Linked DNA regions of Homo sapiens: regions 1 and 2 are each linked to region 3. The links are contacts of gene promoters, found by promoter capture Hi-C in blood cells and fetal thymus (Javierre and others, 2016). All regions are on one chromosome and are shown on one strand. The core of a region is centred on a gene start or on the middle of the fragment in contact, and the rest is flanking DNA. Distances in the headings are between cores, read along the strand shown.

Region 1 (4,768 bases), core at 1,712-4,211, 530 kb before region 3:
TAATAGCTTTTTGTGATAGAGGGCAGGTGCTGCCAGACTTGCAGGCAGACAGAAGAGTGATTTATTGTGCTTAAAGAAAAAGAGAAACTGGACTGCTAAGAACTGATGGAGGGAGCCAGGAAGGAATCTAGGTTTGCCAGACTCCACTGTGAGCTCATGGAATCTGGGAATCCCAGGGCCAGCTCATGCCACCTGACTCCAGTCAACCCATAATGAAATTCAGTATGCAAAAACCAAAACCAAAGGCTGGGCTGGCTTCTACTTTAAGTCCACCTGTATTCAGAGTGTCCATACAGGGATCTACGGGGGCATGTAAAGATTCCTGGCAGATGTACCTCTTTGCTCTGTTCCAGAAGGTTTTCTTTTTCTCCAAGTGTCTTGGAATTCACAAGAGATTGTTGTTAGGCAACAGAAACAATGAAAGAAGACAGGTGACTCATTCACCAATACATCTGAAATCTAAAATGTATTAATTTAATTTGGTTTATATTACCATGAGACAATTCTTATTTTGATAGCACATTTCCTACCCCTATAAAAATCTAAAAATGCCACACAAAAAAAGAATTTTTACAATGGTGAATACAAAGAGCCAGGTTTCCAAAATAAAGCCCACTGATACTTTAAAGAGAAGAAGAAAAACACATACCTCCTCCTCCAACCCTCTCTCCTTTAAAACTATTTCTTTTCAGATATAATTTTGCTTGGTTGTCACAGTCTTTAACGTTTCCCCCCTAGGTTCTTTTTCTCCTTTGTTATCAACAAAAATATGAGCATGAAAGGGGCGGGAAGTGTTTGTTTTTATGTACACATCTTTGATCATATCAGAAAGGGAAGAATCATGAACACCCACTGCTGACTGATTTTAAGAACTAAATCTTGATTCTAGTTTCTACAGGGAAGATGAATAACATGAATAAAGAGAAGCTTACACATCTTTCATAAGTGTCAAGGGCCTAAGTTTGGTTCTTTTTATTTAAAATTTAACTCACTGGGTAAAGCCAATGGCATCCTCTGTTAGAAGAGGCCTGAAAGGGATGCAAGTGAAGCCCTCGTCCTGGGACCCCCTAACTCCCCAAACAGCCCCACCTGTCAGACCGCTTGAAGCTGTGCAAAAAGACAAGACGTATATAGCATAAAAACGAGGCATTTAAATCACCTCCATTATGGTATCGTCTTGACAGGAAAACTATTTTGAATGTGGCTTTTCAAGAAAGATTTTTAAAAACCCATTGACATTTCAGAGGCTAAGTGGGAGTGGTTAAGAGCATGGTTCTGGGCTGGGCGCAGTGACTCACACCTGTAATCCCAGCTCTTTGAAAGGCTGAGGTGGGTGGATCACAAGGTCAGAAGTTCAAGACCAGCCTGGCCAATGTGGTGAAACCCTGTCTATACTAAAATACAAAAATTAGCTGGGTGTGGTGGCAGGTGCCTGTAATCCCAGCTACTCGGGAGGCTGAGGCAGGAGAATGGCGTGAACCCGGGAGGCAGAGGTTGCAGTGAGCTGAGATCGCGCTCCAGCCTGGGTGACAGAGCAAGACTTCATCTCGAAAAAACAACAACAACTAAAAAAGAGGGTGGTTCTGGATTCTGGCAGATCTGGGCCCCAGCACTGCCACATAATCTCAGCATGACCTAAGTCTCTGTTTTCTTATTTATAGAATGAGGAATACAACATTAACTACTGTAGGATTGTTGAGAGGCCTGGATGAAATATGAAGCACTTTGCCTGGAGCAGTGGCTCTTGCCTGTAATCCCAGCACTTTGGGAGGCCGAGGTGGGCGGATCACGAGGTCAGGAGATCGAGACCATCCTGGCCAACATGGTGAAACCCTATCCCTACTAAAATACAAAAAAAAAATTAGCCAAGTGTGGTGGCGTGAGCCTGTAGTCCCAGCTACTCAGGAGGCCGAGGCAGGGGAATTGCTTGAACCTGGGAGGCGGAGGTTGCAGTGAGCCGAGATCGCGCCACTGCACTCCAGCCTGGTGACAGAGCAAGACTCTGTCTCAAAAAAAATAAAATAAAAAATAAAGAAATATGAAGCATTTAGCACAGAGCCTGGCATACATCAAAGACTTAGTAAATATGAACTATTATTATTTTTACTCATCGAGTGTGTTAATTATTGTATGAGCAAATGAATTAATAAGTTTTAGGTATACATGACTTTGTTTTCTGCTCAGGCTTATATTAGGTATCAGTGATTCTCAACTCCGGCTGCACATTAGAATCACCCAGGGAGATTTTTTAAAATGCTAAGTTCCTACTGAAGAACAATTGAATCTGAGTCCTGGGGGTGGTGCCTGAGTATCATATTTTTTAAAAGCTCTCCAGGTGATTCTTGTGTGCTGCCAGAGTTGAGAATTACTGGGCTCTACAGAAATGAGGAAATCCTCTGATGTTAACTAAACCAACAGACAAAACTAGGGTGGGCAGGCCTCCCCTGCTTTTCTCCCACTCATCTGAAAATAAACTGAAAGGCAACCAGGGCCATCAGGCATTGGCTAACCCTGATGTGGCCCACACTTTGGTTTTACCTTTTGTTTTTACTGACTCTTGTCTAAATCTAACTCCTTTTGCTGGCTTTCCTCAGGCTAAACCAAGAGTCCCTTTAACTTTTTCTATGGAACTTAATTGGCGGAGGGGGTGCTCACCACTTCGTGGCCACGAGTAAAGATTTTCCAATCTTCATTACAAAGCTGCCAAGTCAGCTCTTGTCTTCATCATTCCGACATCTTTACTCATTTTAGTTCTACCTTTCTTTTTTTGTTTTGTTTTTTTTTGTTTTTTGTGATGGGGTCCCCTCTATTGCCCAGGCTGGGGGAGTGCAGTGGCGCCATCCTGGCTCACTACAACCTCCGCCTCCCAGGTTCAAGTGATTTCTGCCTCAGCCTCCTGAGTAGCTAGGACTACAGACGTGCGCCACCACTCCCAGCTAATTTTTGTTTGTTTGTTTGTTTAGTAGAGACAGGCTTTCACCATGTTAGCCAGGGTGGTCTGGAACTCCCGCCCTCAAGTGGTCTGCCTGCTTCCACCTCCCAAAGTGCTGGGATTACAGGCATGAACCATCTTACCCGGCCAGCCGGCCTGCCTGCCTGCCTGCCTTCCTTCCTTCCTTCCTTCCTTCTTCCCTCCCTTCCTCTTCCTCTCTCTCTCTCTCTCTCTCTCTCTCTCTCTCTCTCTCTCTCTCTCTCTCTTTCTTTCTTTCTTTCTTTCTGACAGAGTCTTGGTCTGTTACCCAGGCTGGAGTGCAGTGACGGGGTTTCACCTTGTTAGCCAGGATGGTCTCAGTCTCCTGACCTCGTGATCCACCCGCCTCAGCCTCCCAAACTGCTGGGATTACAGACTTGTGGAGGCCAGGCACTGTGGCTCACGCCTGTAGTCCCAGAACTTTGGGAGGTGGAGGAGGGCAGATCACTTGAGGTTGGGAATTTGAGACCAGCCATGGTGACACCATGTCTCTACTAAAAATACAAAAATTAGCTGGGTGTGGTGGCGCGCACCTGTAATCCCAGCAACTCAGGAGCCTGAGGCATGAGCATCGCTTGAACCCTGGAGGTGGAGGTTGCAGTGAGCTGAGATAGCATTACTGCACTCCAGCCTGGGCAACAAACAGAGTGAGACTTTGTCTCAAAAAAAAAAAAAAAGTTGTGGAGTACCTTTCTTAGGGGTTTGGAGTGCCTCAAATGAGACAATATCCAGGAAAGTGCTTTTTAAACTGTGAAGCTATTTACCAGCATGATAATGAAACAATTATGACAGGTAGGTAAATAATAACAAAGTCCTCATGATGTAGAGAATCTCTAAAATGATCTTTGATAGGGTTTTTGTTTTGTTTTTTCCTTAATATTCTTGGCACAGCCTTAAATTTGGTGGGTATGGGCATTATGTTCGGCAACCTAAAGTAAGTTGAAATCTAAAGTTTCAACCCAAATGCCATCAATTGAAATCAGTGACCAAGTCCTTGGCTTTAATGACACTTGATTTTTCTCCTACGTCTATAGCCCATATTCTTTCAGCAAATATTTTTAAAGTGCATTTTATGTTTCAGGCCCTGTGTTAAATTATGGGAGCAAAGAAATCAAAAAATGAGACAAGTTCTTGTCCTTATGGAGCTCCTCCTAATGGAGGAGGCAGAAAATAAACCAGCAGGCAAACAAGACAATTCTAGAGCAGAACAAGTGCTATAAAGAACAAAAATGCAGTGATGTGGTAGAGAGAGACTGGGGTGTTTGAGGTGTGGTCAGGAAAGGCCTCTCTGACCAGATGATATAGAAACTGGCCCTCAGTCGGGCGCGGTGGCTCATGCCTGTAATCCCGCACTTTGGGAGGCTGAGGTGGGCAGATAACGAGGTCAGGAGATCGAGACCATCCTGGCTAACACGGTGAAACCCCATCTCTACTAAAAATAAAAAAAATTAGCCGGGCATGGTGGCAGGTGCCTATAGTCCCAGCTGCTCGGAAGGCTGAGGCAGGAGAATGGCATGAACCCAGGAGGTGGAGCTTGCAGTGAGCTGAGATCACGCCACTGCACTCCAGCCTGGGTGACAGAATGAGACTCCGTCTCAAAAAAAAAAAAAAAAAAAAAAAGGAAAGAAACTGGCCCTCAGGAATGAGAAGGAGCCAGGCTGGTGAAGAGTTAAGGCAAAGAGATTTCCAAGTAGAGAGTACAACAAATGGAAAGATCCTGATGTGGGAAAGGAATTGATGCATTTTAGGCAAAAAGGAGGGCTCTGGTGTTGCAGAGGGCAACACAGTCTCCTGTTT
Region 2 (4,640 bases), core at 1,295-3,794, 510 kb before region 3:
CACCGTGCCCAGCAACTGGGACAGTTTTTATTGGTTAATTTTTTTTTTCTTTTAATGGGTCATACTTTCCTGTATCTTTGTATGACCTGGGACTTTTTAATTTTTTTTTGAAAACTGGACATTTGAATCTAATGATGTGCTAACTCTGAAAATTGGACTCTTCTCATTCCCAGGGTTTGCTGGATTTTTTTGTTTATTTGTTACAGTTTGTTTTTATGCTGAGGATCAGCCTGAGATACAAACTTAAGGACTTCTCAGGTCTTTTTTGAGCCTGCACCTTTCCCTGGGCGCATGCACCATGGTAACTTTTTTCCTTATCTCCCCCGCACCCTCATGATTGCTTTTGAATATCCTAGTCTTTAAAGTCTAGCTCCTAAAGAGGAAAAAGAGAAAAATGAAGGAAGTAGGGAGGTGGGGGCCCTTGGCCCATTAAATTTCCTGGAAGTCTACTTCAGCTGGAGGGGGAGGACTTGCAGTCATGGAGGGGGTGCAATAATGGCTATCCTTCTCAGTGTCTGCCTATCCCTGATTATAAGCAGCAATCAGCAATTAGAATACGGATCCCTAATATTTGGAGGACAGGGTCCTTATTACCCATCCTGGTTCCCAAAAGCTGCTTGCAAGCTGTTTCAGGAATGCATTGTAGGTTGTCTGCCCGTGGCTGGGGGCTAGGGAATGGGGTAGCTGCTGCTCAGCTAAGGGCTGAAATTGACTGAAATTAACCCAATTTACTGTCCCAGTCTTTCCTTGGAAGTTGCAAGCTTTCTTCAACAGTCCCCAGAATTACATCTGACTAATTATGCCAGTGTAATTGTCTAGGTGGGGAGACTGATCTTGGTGCTTCCTACTCTGCTGTTTTAGAATCTGGAATCCTCTCCCAGAATTTCTTTCCTTTTTTTTTTTTTTTTTTTTTTTTTTTTTATGAGATGGAGTTTCACTCTTGTCGCCCAGGCTGGAGTGCAATGGCGCGATCTTGGCTCACCACAACCTCCGCCTCCCGGGTTCAAGCGATTCTCCTGCCTCAGCCTCCTGAGTAGCTGGGATACAGGCATGCGCCACCATGCCTGGCTAATTTTGTTATTTTTAGTAGAGACGGGGTTTCTCCATGTTGGTCAGGCTGGTCTTGAACTCCTGACCTCAGGTGATCCACCCGCCTCGGCCTACCAAAGTGCTGGGATTGCAGGAGTGAGCCACCGTGCTCAGCCGGATTTCTTTCCTTTTAAAGGCTGAATAATGTTCCATTTATTGTATGTATATGCCATATTTTGTTTATCCATTCATACTTTTTTTTTTGGAGGGGACAGAGTCTCTGTTGTCCAGGCTGGAGTGCAGTGGTGCGATCTTGGCTCACCACAACCTCTGCCTCCCAAGCTCAAAACGATTCTCCTGCCTCAGCCTCCTGAGTAGCTGGGATTACAGGTGTGCGCCACTACCACCCGGCTAATTTCTTTATTTTTAGTAGAAACGGGGTTTCACCATATTGGCCAGGCTGGTCTCTAACTCCTGACCTCAAATGATTCACCTGCCTCAGCCTCGAAAACTGCTGGGATTACAGGCGTGAGCCACCACGTCTGACCTATCCATTCATATGTTGATGGACGTTTGGATTATTTCCAAGGTATGCTACTTTTTTATAGCTCTTAAAATTTTTCCAAATTCCTCTCCAGAAATGTACTTTATCATCACCTGTGGTACATCAGGGTATTTTCCACTTTAGACATTCTTGATCTATTGTCTGAGTACTTGAAGTGGTGTGACTGTAGGCTGACTGTTGAATGAAGCTGAAAGGGGGGTTTTAATAGCAGGTCACAAACTTGGATAGAAGAGGAGATGTCTCTCGGGCTGGTTGGATATATAATAAGTTCTGGAAGGCCACATGCTGGTGATGATGTCATCCAGAAAGGGTTTGGTACTGAATTTCTGTTCAGGAACGTTCCTTGTCAGGGATGTTAGGGATCTGCCTTGTCAACTGTAGTCCTTCGTCAGCCTCTTCAGAAGTTGATGCCCACTTAGCTCTTGAAGCAGGTGTTCTAAGTAAATAATATTTTGTACTCTTATATTCTGTGGATTAGTTGTAGGTACATGCTGTTGTGAAAATAAATTCATTTGACTTCTCTGTATCTTGATTGTGGAGGTGATCACACAACTGTTATTTATTTTTTTTGAGACAGAGTCTCACCCTGTCGCCCAGTCTGGAGTGCAGTGGCATGATCTCGGCTCACTGCAACCTCCACTTCCTGAGTTCAAATGATTCTCCTGCCTCAGCTTCCTGAGTAGCTGGGATTTGCAAGCATGTGTCACCACGACCTGTTTAATTTTTGTACTTTTAGTAGAGACGGGGTTTCACCATTTTGGCCAGGCTGGTTTTGAACTCCTGACCTCAAATGATCCGTCCGCCTCCTAAAGTGCTGGGATTGCGGGCTTTAGCCACTCACCTGGCCCACACAGCTGTTTTTAGATTGGTATACGAGAGAGTGAATTTTATTGTGCATAAAAGGTGGAAAAATGAACAGGTAAAAAAATTTACTCAAAAAAATTTTGGGGGTGAGTTTGGCCTTCTATATGGAGATAATAAATAAGTAGTGAAAAACATGAACCCAATTATTCTTTCTACCTTCTCTGCCCAAATCATTTTTTTCTCAAGTGACCAAAACCACACACTTTGAGGTCTTTTTGTTGTTGTTGATACAGGGTCTCACTCAGTCATCCAGGCTGGAGTGCAGTGGTGCAATCACACCTCACTGCAGCCTTGACCTCCCGGGTTGAAAGTGATCCCCTCACCGCAGCCTCCTATGGAGCTGGGACTACAGGCGCCTGCCACAATGCCTGGCTAATTTTTGTGTTTTCTGTAGAGACAGAGTTTCACCGTGTTTCCCAGGCTGGTCTCAAACTCCTGAGCTCAAGTGATCCACCTGCCTTGGCCTCCCAAAGAGCTGAGATTACAGGCGTGACCCACTGCGCCTGGCCCACTTTGAAGTCCTAAAGAAATTTAGGTTATTATTCTATGCATGTTGGAGGATTTAAGTCTTATTAGCAGCTTCTGTTTTCTGTAAGGAAAAAGTTAAAACACATCTGGAAGAGTCTCATAGAGCAGCACTTTCTGAAACTTGCCTGGGTACCAGTATGCCTGCTTCCAGACCTTGAAGATATTACATGTACTGCTTGGTGATCTGCCCTGTCCCCCACATGTTGTGGGCCTGGATTGAATGGACTGAACAGTGTGGGGAATTAGTCCAGCGTGACTTGCCTTGTCTCATGCTGTTTGCTCACTTGTGAGAGCACTATACTGAATTATCCATTATTGAAAGTTCCAAGTGTGCAAAGAACCACACTTCAAAAATAAAATGTCAACATTGCCCTTTCTCTGTTAGAGCCTTAAATGTTCATTATTTTCTTTAGTTTTTTTTTATAACTATCAAACTTATTTTTCTCCATGTGGAAGTATGCCACAACTCCATTTCTAATGGAGCTTGAAATTAGCATGTATTTCCACTTACTTGTTGATGGGCTGTCATCGATCAACCCCTCTTTTTGATTGGGATTTAATTTGTGGTTTTTTTTTTTTACCAGCTGTAAGTTTGGAGTAATGCATGTAATGTAAATACAGTTCACAGGGCAACTTCGGATGTTCTAAATACTTGTAACATTTGCTCATTTTGAACAATATTGTATGAGTAGTGTGAAGTGATTTTTAAAATGTCTGTCATTTTTTTCATGTTCCCATTTTATTAAAAGGAGGGATGGAACTATATTGTGGAAGCTAATGTAATTTTTGTCTCTAAGAGGTTTTTTTTTCTTTTTAGACTAAAAGGGCTTAACAGAAGAAAAATTTATCTTTCTTAATTGCTAATTTAAAGGCTAATTTTTTCCCTAGATTGCTTAGTTTTGACTATTTGATTCCATCATATCAAGCTGTGAATTTCCTTCATTTTCTTGTTTTGAGGTTTCATTATTAAATATTGTCAAAAATAAGTGGCTCATCAACTCTCTTGAAAGTGTCTTATTGCTATGTTTTTTTTTGTCAGTATTTGACATTCTGAATTGAAGATGTGAGTTGGAAACCTGGTTAATTACCAAGTTACATAATCCTGTATTTATTAACTAGGTTAGACTACATACAGACTGTTCTTGAAAATGAAAGTGCTGTTATAACTCAGAAAACACATTCACTATGGCCCATTTCAAGTTAATTGAAGGATTGAGCCTTTGATAGTGCATTTGCCCTGTGCGGCTCTGTTACATGCATTCTTTCTAGGCAAAGATGCATTGTTACCATTCTCTCATGGTATGTTGAATATTTCATTAGATTCAATATTTCAATATTAATCCAAGCTTTTTTTTTGAGACAGGGTCAAGCCATCCTCCCACCTCAGCCTTCTGAATAGCTGGGACCATAGGTGTGTACTACGACACCCAGCTAATTTTTTACATTTTTAGTAGAGACAGGTCTCACCATATTGCTTAGGCTGATCTTTGAACTCCTGAACTCAAGCGATCTGCCCACCTTGGCCTCCAAAGTGCTAGGATTACAGGCATGTGCCACTGTGCCTGGCCTGAGTTTACAATCCAAATTCTAAATCATGGTTTGTGAAATATGATGGTGCAGTGAATAAGCTAGAGGCTAAAAGGGAGAAGCATGT
Region 3 (4,951 bases), core at 2,256-4,755:
CAGTACATGATTCATTTTTTTCTTTTTTTCTTTTGAGACAGAGTCTTGCTCTGTTGCCAGGCTGAAGTGCAGTGGCTCCATCTCTGCTTGCTACAATCTCCGCCTCCCGGGTTCAAGCCGTTCTCCTGCCTCAGCCTCCCAAGTAGCTGGGACTACATGCACAAGCCACCACACCCAGCTAATATTTTGTATTTTTAGTAGAGATGGGGTTTCACCATGTTGGCCAGGCTGGTCTCAAACTCCTGACCTCAAGTGATCCGCCTGCCTCAGCCTGCCAAAGTGCTAGGATTACAGGTGTGAGCCATCACGCCTGGCCTCTTTTTTTTTTTTTTTTTTTTTTGAGACAGAGTTTCACTGTCACTCAGGCTGGAGTGCAATGGCATGATCACAGCTCACTGCAGCCTCAATCTCCCAGGCTTAAGCAATCCTCTCACCTTAGCCCCCTAAAGTAGCTGGGACTACAGTTGTGTATCACCATGCCCACCTAATTTTTTTATTTTTTGTAGAGATGGGGTCCCATCTCTATGTTGCCCAGGCTGGTCTTGAACTCCTGGGCTCAAGCAATCCTCTTGCCTTAGCCTCTTCAAAGTGCTGGGATTACAGGATTAATTCCCTTTTATGGCCAAGTAATAGTCCATTGTGTGGATATGCCACATTTTGTTTATCCATTCATCAAGTAATGAACGTTTGGTTTTGGAGGGCTATTATGAATAATGCTGCTGTAAACATTTCTGTATAGGCTTTTGTGTGACGGGCTTTAATTTCTCTTGGGTACATACCTAGGACTGGAATTGCTGAGTCATAAAGTAACTCTGTGTTTAATCATTTGAGGAACTGCCAGACGGTTTTCCAAAGCAGCTGCACCATTTTACATTCCCACCAGCAGTGTATGAGGGTTCCAATTTCTCCACATCCTTGCCAATCCAACTATGCTTTTGAGAAATAACAAGGACAACTGAAGAGCCCCACTCTAATTGGGTAGCTAGTACATAGCAGCAAGAGGAGTGCAGGGATGGAGGAGGGGTCCCTCCTCTACTCTAAGCCCTTAGGATCAGCCAGAGAGAATACAGCTATCTCTAGTACTCTTCCTGACCCCCTAGGCTATGTTAGCTGCCCCCAGACATGTGACCAAGTATACATATAGTACTTGTCATTCTTCTCCTCTAGACTGTAAGCTTTAGGCAGGCAGGAATCTCTATTGTTCTGACTTTATCTGCAGCATCTGAACAGAGTCTGGCACATGATAGATGTTTCGTAAATGTTGATTGACTGAGTGACTGACTAACTGAACAAATGACTAGATATTTCTCTACTGGTGGTTTTTCTCCCTGTTCAGGGAGAAAGAAAAAGAGCAGTCTTAGAGGCAGAAAGCATCAAGGAGGGAAGCAGGAATGAGAGGAGAGATGGAGGATAAAGAGAAAGGCAGGGAAGAAGCTTGGGGACCTGGTGTCACTTGAGGTCAGCTTTAAGTTATGAGGTCAAACTCAGAGCTAATGGACTTCCCCTAGTCCTTTGCTTTCCATCTAGCTGCATCTTTTTTTCTAGAAATGTTCCCTTTTATTTTTTGTTATTATTCTCAATAATTTTGTCTTTGCAAGAAGAAACAAAAAAGTAGAAAAATAGTTGATATTACAGGTAAAAAAAACATAAATCAACCCATCAAAATTAATTCAGAATTTAAAAGGATGGAAGTCAAAAAGGTTGACTATGAAGGATTTTTAAGTTGGAAACAAAATCTTCATCTAGGTTTTTCTCCAAAGGTCATTGAAAGACCTATAGCCCAAAAAGTTGACCACTTGTTCAACAGGACATGAAAATATGGCTTACCTCACAGCCTTATTTATAATGGCTGGCCTTCCACATAAATCCTGCCTTCTACCTGGACTAATCTGAATCCAGTCATCACCAGATTATTGGTCCCTCTCTCCCCAAAGGTCTGCATAGCTCCCTGTCCTCAGTTACTTCTTGTCTCTTCTCTGAAAGCACACATGCACATTCACACACACACATACACACACACACACACACACACACACACACCCTATCTTTCCTTTTCATGAATCTTCAGGGTAGCTCTGCCCTCTCCACTTTGTGTGTTTGGAAGGAAAGAAAGCGAAATATATGAGATGCCAATGCAATTTCTCCTTTAGCAGAGCTCGGTAGGACAATTACCCACCCAATCTGCCTGGTTTTATAGCTCTCATAACCTTCCTTTATGAACACGCTGTGACAGCCGGATGTGGGCATTGATTATGGCAGCAGTCTTCAGCCACATTCCTATTTAACTGCAAAGCAGAGCTCCTGCCTACCAGCCCAGCACTGGTCATGTGACTTTTTAAATTACTGTATTTATGTAAGCCTTTTCCCAACCAGAGCCTATGTCCAACTGCATCAAAACTGGGGAGGATTTGAGCTTGCCACTTCCCCTCCAGTGGCTCTTTGGCCCTACAGCCTAGGGTCTCTTGCTGGAATCAAACTGGGGCTCTGGGCTTTCTTAGGAGAGGTCTGCAAGAGTTGGGGTGCACAAGAAGCATACCTTTTTCATTATGAAAGAGCTGAGGAAATAGACAATGAAACATGTTGGCAGATGCCAAGGGCAGTGGCTTGGTTCCCAGGGGTTCACCTGGCAATGGTGCCAGGTGCAAGAGATCAGCAAAACTTACAGGATTGGTTGTTGTTGTTGGGGGGCGGGTGTCGGAAAGGAATTTGGGGGAATTAGAGAATGGAGTTGGGAATCACTGCTTGTAGGCCTTCCACTCTGGACCCCAGCAGAATCATATGGACTCTAGCCACTGGGAGAGGGAAGTTTTAGTGTTCCAAAGAAATCCTGGTAGCCTTGCAGGCAGTCTGTCCTGACCAAGGACTCTGCCTGACTGTGCCATGGTGCAGGGCAAGTCTAGCAGAGAAAGCCAGTGTTCTTCAGTTACTGCAGCTCGGCGAAGAATCCCACTGCAGGGCACTAGGGAGGCCGGTCCTGCAGAGGTCAGCAGTAGGAGTGACTGGCTTAATCTATTCGAAAACCTCCTGGAAAGATCCCGAAGACCGTGGACCAAGGTGACCTGCGTGGGTGAGCGATCCATTAGCCGAATGACAGCGCTGCCGCAGAAAGCCAGAAAAAGGATATGCGTGGGAAGCGCAAAAGCGTGGGCTGGGCCTGCAGCAACGGAAAGGCGCCACGCTCGTGAGCGGAACCAGCGTTCCGGGGGCGCTCAGTGTGGGCAGGCAGGAAGCCTGGCTCCACTAGGACACACAGATTCTCTCCTGAGCAGCTGCGAACTATGCGCCCCTTCTACCCTTAAGAGATGGGATGGGAGTCCAACAAACCCAGCCATTGCTCAGACCCCAGCCCTTCTCTCCTCTAAGAAGCAGGTTCACCTCTGCCACCGCACTCGCATTTTTTTTTTTTTTTAAAGCCCGGCCTTTCCTAGGCGGGGTCAAGGGCCCCGCCCACCGAAGCCACGCCCAGTAGCCGCCCCGGGGCGGGGTTCCCCTCGGCTCCCGGCTGCCCTTTCCCCTCCGGCCTCTGCCGGTGCTGCTGCGCCCTGCGGAGCTCCGAACACGTGCGCGTGAGTAAGGACCCAGAGGGGAGAGTCCTTGGAGGTTTCCCAGCCTGGGGAAAGAAGCAGTGCAGGGTGGCTTCTGCCGGGGCACGGGACGAAATTGGGGTTCGTCCCCTCGTGATCCCGAGCTTGGAGGGCATCTGAAAGAGACTTGGGCCTCGGAGTCGTCCCCTGTTTTTCTACCATCCCTCTTCCCTCTTCTCCCTAGGGAGTCCCATAGAGCCTGACTCCGAGAGCCTCGATCTCCCAGGGCCAGAGGCAGGGACTTTGGAAGGTTTGTGAGGAACAAATGTCCGGTGGAACTGAGTCAGCCCCTTTAACCCGAGCCTTGAAAGGGGCAGGCTATTTTTAGATCTGTTTTTAGACCCAGCGAACAATGAACCCTCTCTACTCATTTTCCTGTTCCTCTAAATTATTTGGAGGAAGTCAGGAGTGAAATTTGGGGATGGCTGGAAAAAGGTATGATCTTAGCCTTACATAAATTATAATGGTGACTGTGAGGCCGGGCGCGTGGCTCACGCCTGTAATCTCAGCACTTTGGGAGGCCGAGGCGGGCGGATGACGAGGTCAAGAGAAGAAGACCATCCTGGCCAACATGGTGAAACCCCGTCTCTACTAAAAATACAAAACTTAGCTGGGCGTGGTGTCGCACGCCTGAAGTCGGGAGGCTGAGGCAGGAGAATCGCTTGAACCCGGGAGGCAGAGATTGCAGTGAGCCGAGATAGCACCACTGCATTCCAACCTGGTAACAGAGCAAGACTCCGTCTAAAAAAAAATGGTGACTGTGTAGGAATATTTATTATCATTTGTGCAAACATTTTGGTTATTTTTATTTTTTTTAACGGAGTCTTGCTCTGTTGCCCAGGCTGGAGTGCAGTAGGGCGATCTCGGCTCACTGCAACCTCCGCCTCCTGGGTTCATGCCATTCTCCTGCCTCAGCATCCCGAGTAACAGGGACTACAGGTGCCCGCCACCACGCCCGGCTAATTTTTTTTTTTTTTTTTTTTTTTTTTTTGTATTTTTAGTAGAGACGGGGTTTCACCGTGTTAGCCAGTATGGTCTCGATCTCCTGAACTCGTGATCCGCCAGCCTCAGCCTCCCAAAGTGCTGGGATTACAGGCGTGAGCCACCGCGCCCGGCCTAACATTTTCGTTATTGCTTTTAATCAGTAGTTGAGGTCTTGGCACGACTACTGCCTCCAATTCCCCTCACATCCAATACTGCAGTTATTTTTCCAAGTGCTGTTTTTATTGTCCTTCAGGAAGTATTGGAGGCCCTCCTCTATCCAGTGTTCCCACTGTTCACTGCCCGTTTCTCTCACTGGATAACTTTTCCCTTTTTACTCACTCATATTCACCATCTAAGCCTTTTTTGGAATGTAGCTCCTCAGG

Evidence for each region. The method cuts DNA at HindIII sites, captures the fragments that hold promoters and counts their contacts. A CHiCAGO score of 5 or more calls a contact.
Region 1: a contact is called between a fragment that was not itself captured here and the fragment with the promoter of SNHG4 in region 3, in 1 of 17 cell types (erythroblasts). The highest score is 5.1, in erythroblasts.
Region 2: a contact is called between a fragment that was not itself captured here and the fragment with the promoter of SNHG4 in region 3, in 1 of 17 cell types (M1 macrophages). The highest score is 5.6, in M1 macrophages.

What each region holds. Positions count from the first base shown.
Region 1 is chr5:138,737,696-138,742,463 of GRCh38, forward strand. No RefSeq gene overlaps it. Among named protein-coding and RNA genes, the nearest start is that of CTNNA1, 13 kb to the right of the region's middle. RefSeq lists a silencer at 1,282-1,421. The HindIII fragment of the contact is 4,072 bases long and covers 926-4,768 here.
Region 2 is chr5:138,759,089-138,763,728 of GRCh38, forward strand. All of the region lies in intron 1 of CTNNA1 (catenin alpha 1), which reads left to right. Among named protein-coding and RNA genes, the nearest start is that of CTNNA1-AS1, 7.5 kb to the left of the region's middle. The HindIII fragment of the contact is 3,571 bases long and covers 760-4,330 here.
Region 3 is chr5:139,270,596-139,275,546 of GRCh38, forward strand. SNHG4 (small nucleolar RNA host gene 4) reads left to right here and starts at 3,506. Exons shown (of 7, transcript NR_182757.1): 1 at 3,506-3,566; 2 at 3,769-4,019. LOC124901081 (a long non-coding RNA gene) reads right to left here. Exons shown (of 4, transcript XR_007058956.1): 4 at 2,472-3,059. It also overlaps a transcript of MATR3 not described here. RefSeq lists an enhancer at 2,860-3,209 and a silencer at 3,500-3,579. The HindIII fragment of the contact is 4,492 bases long and covers 1,433-4,951 here.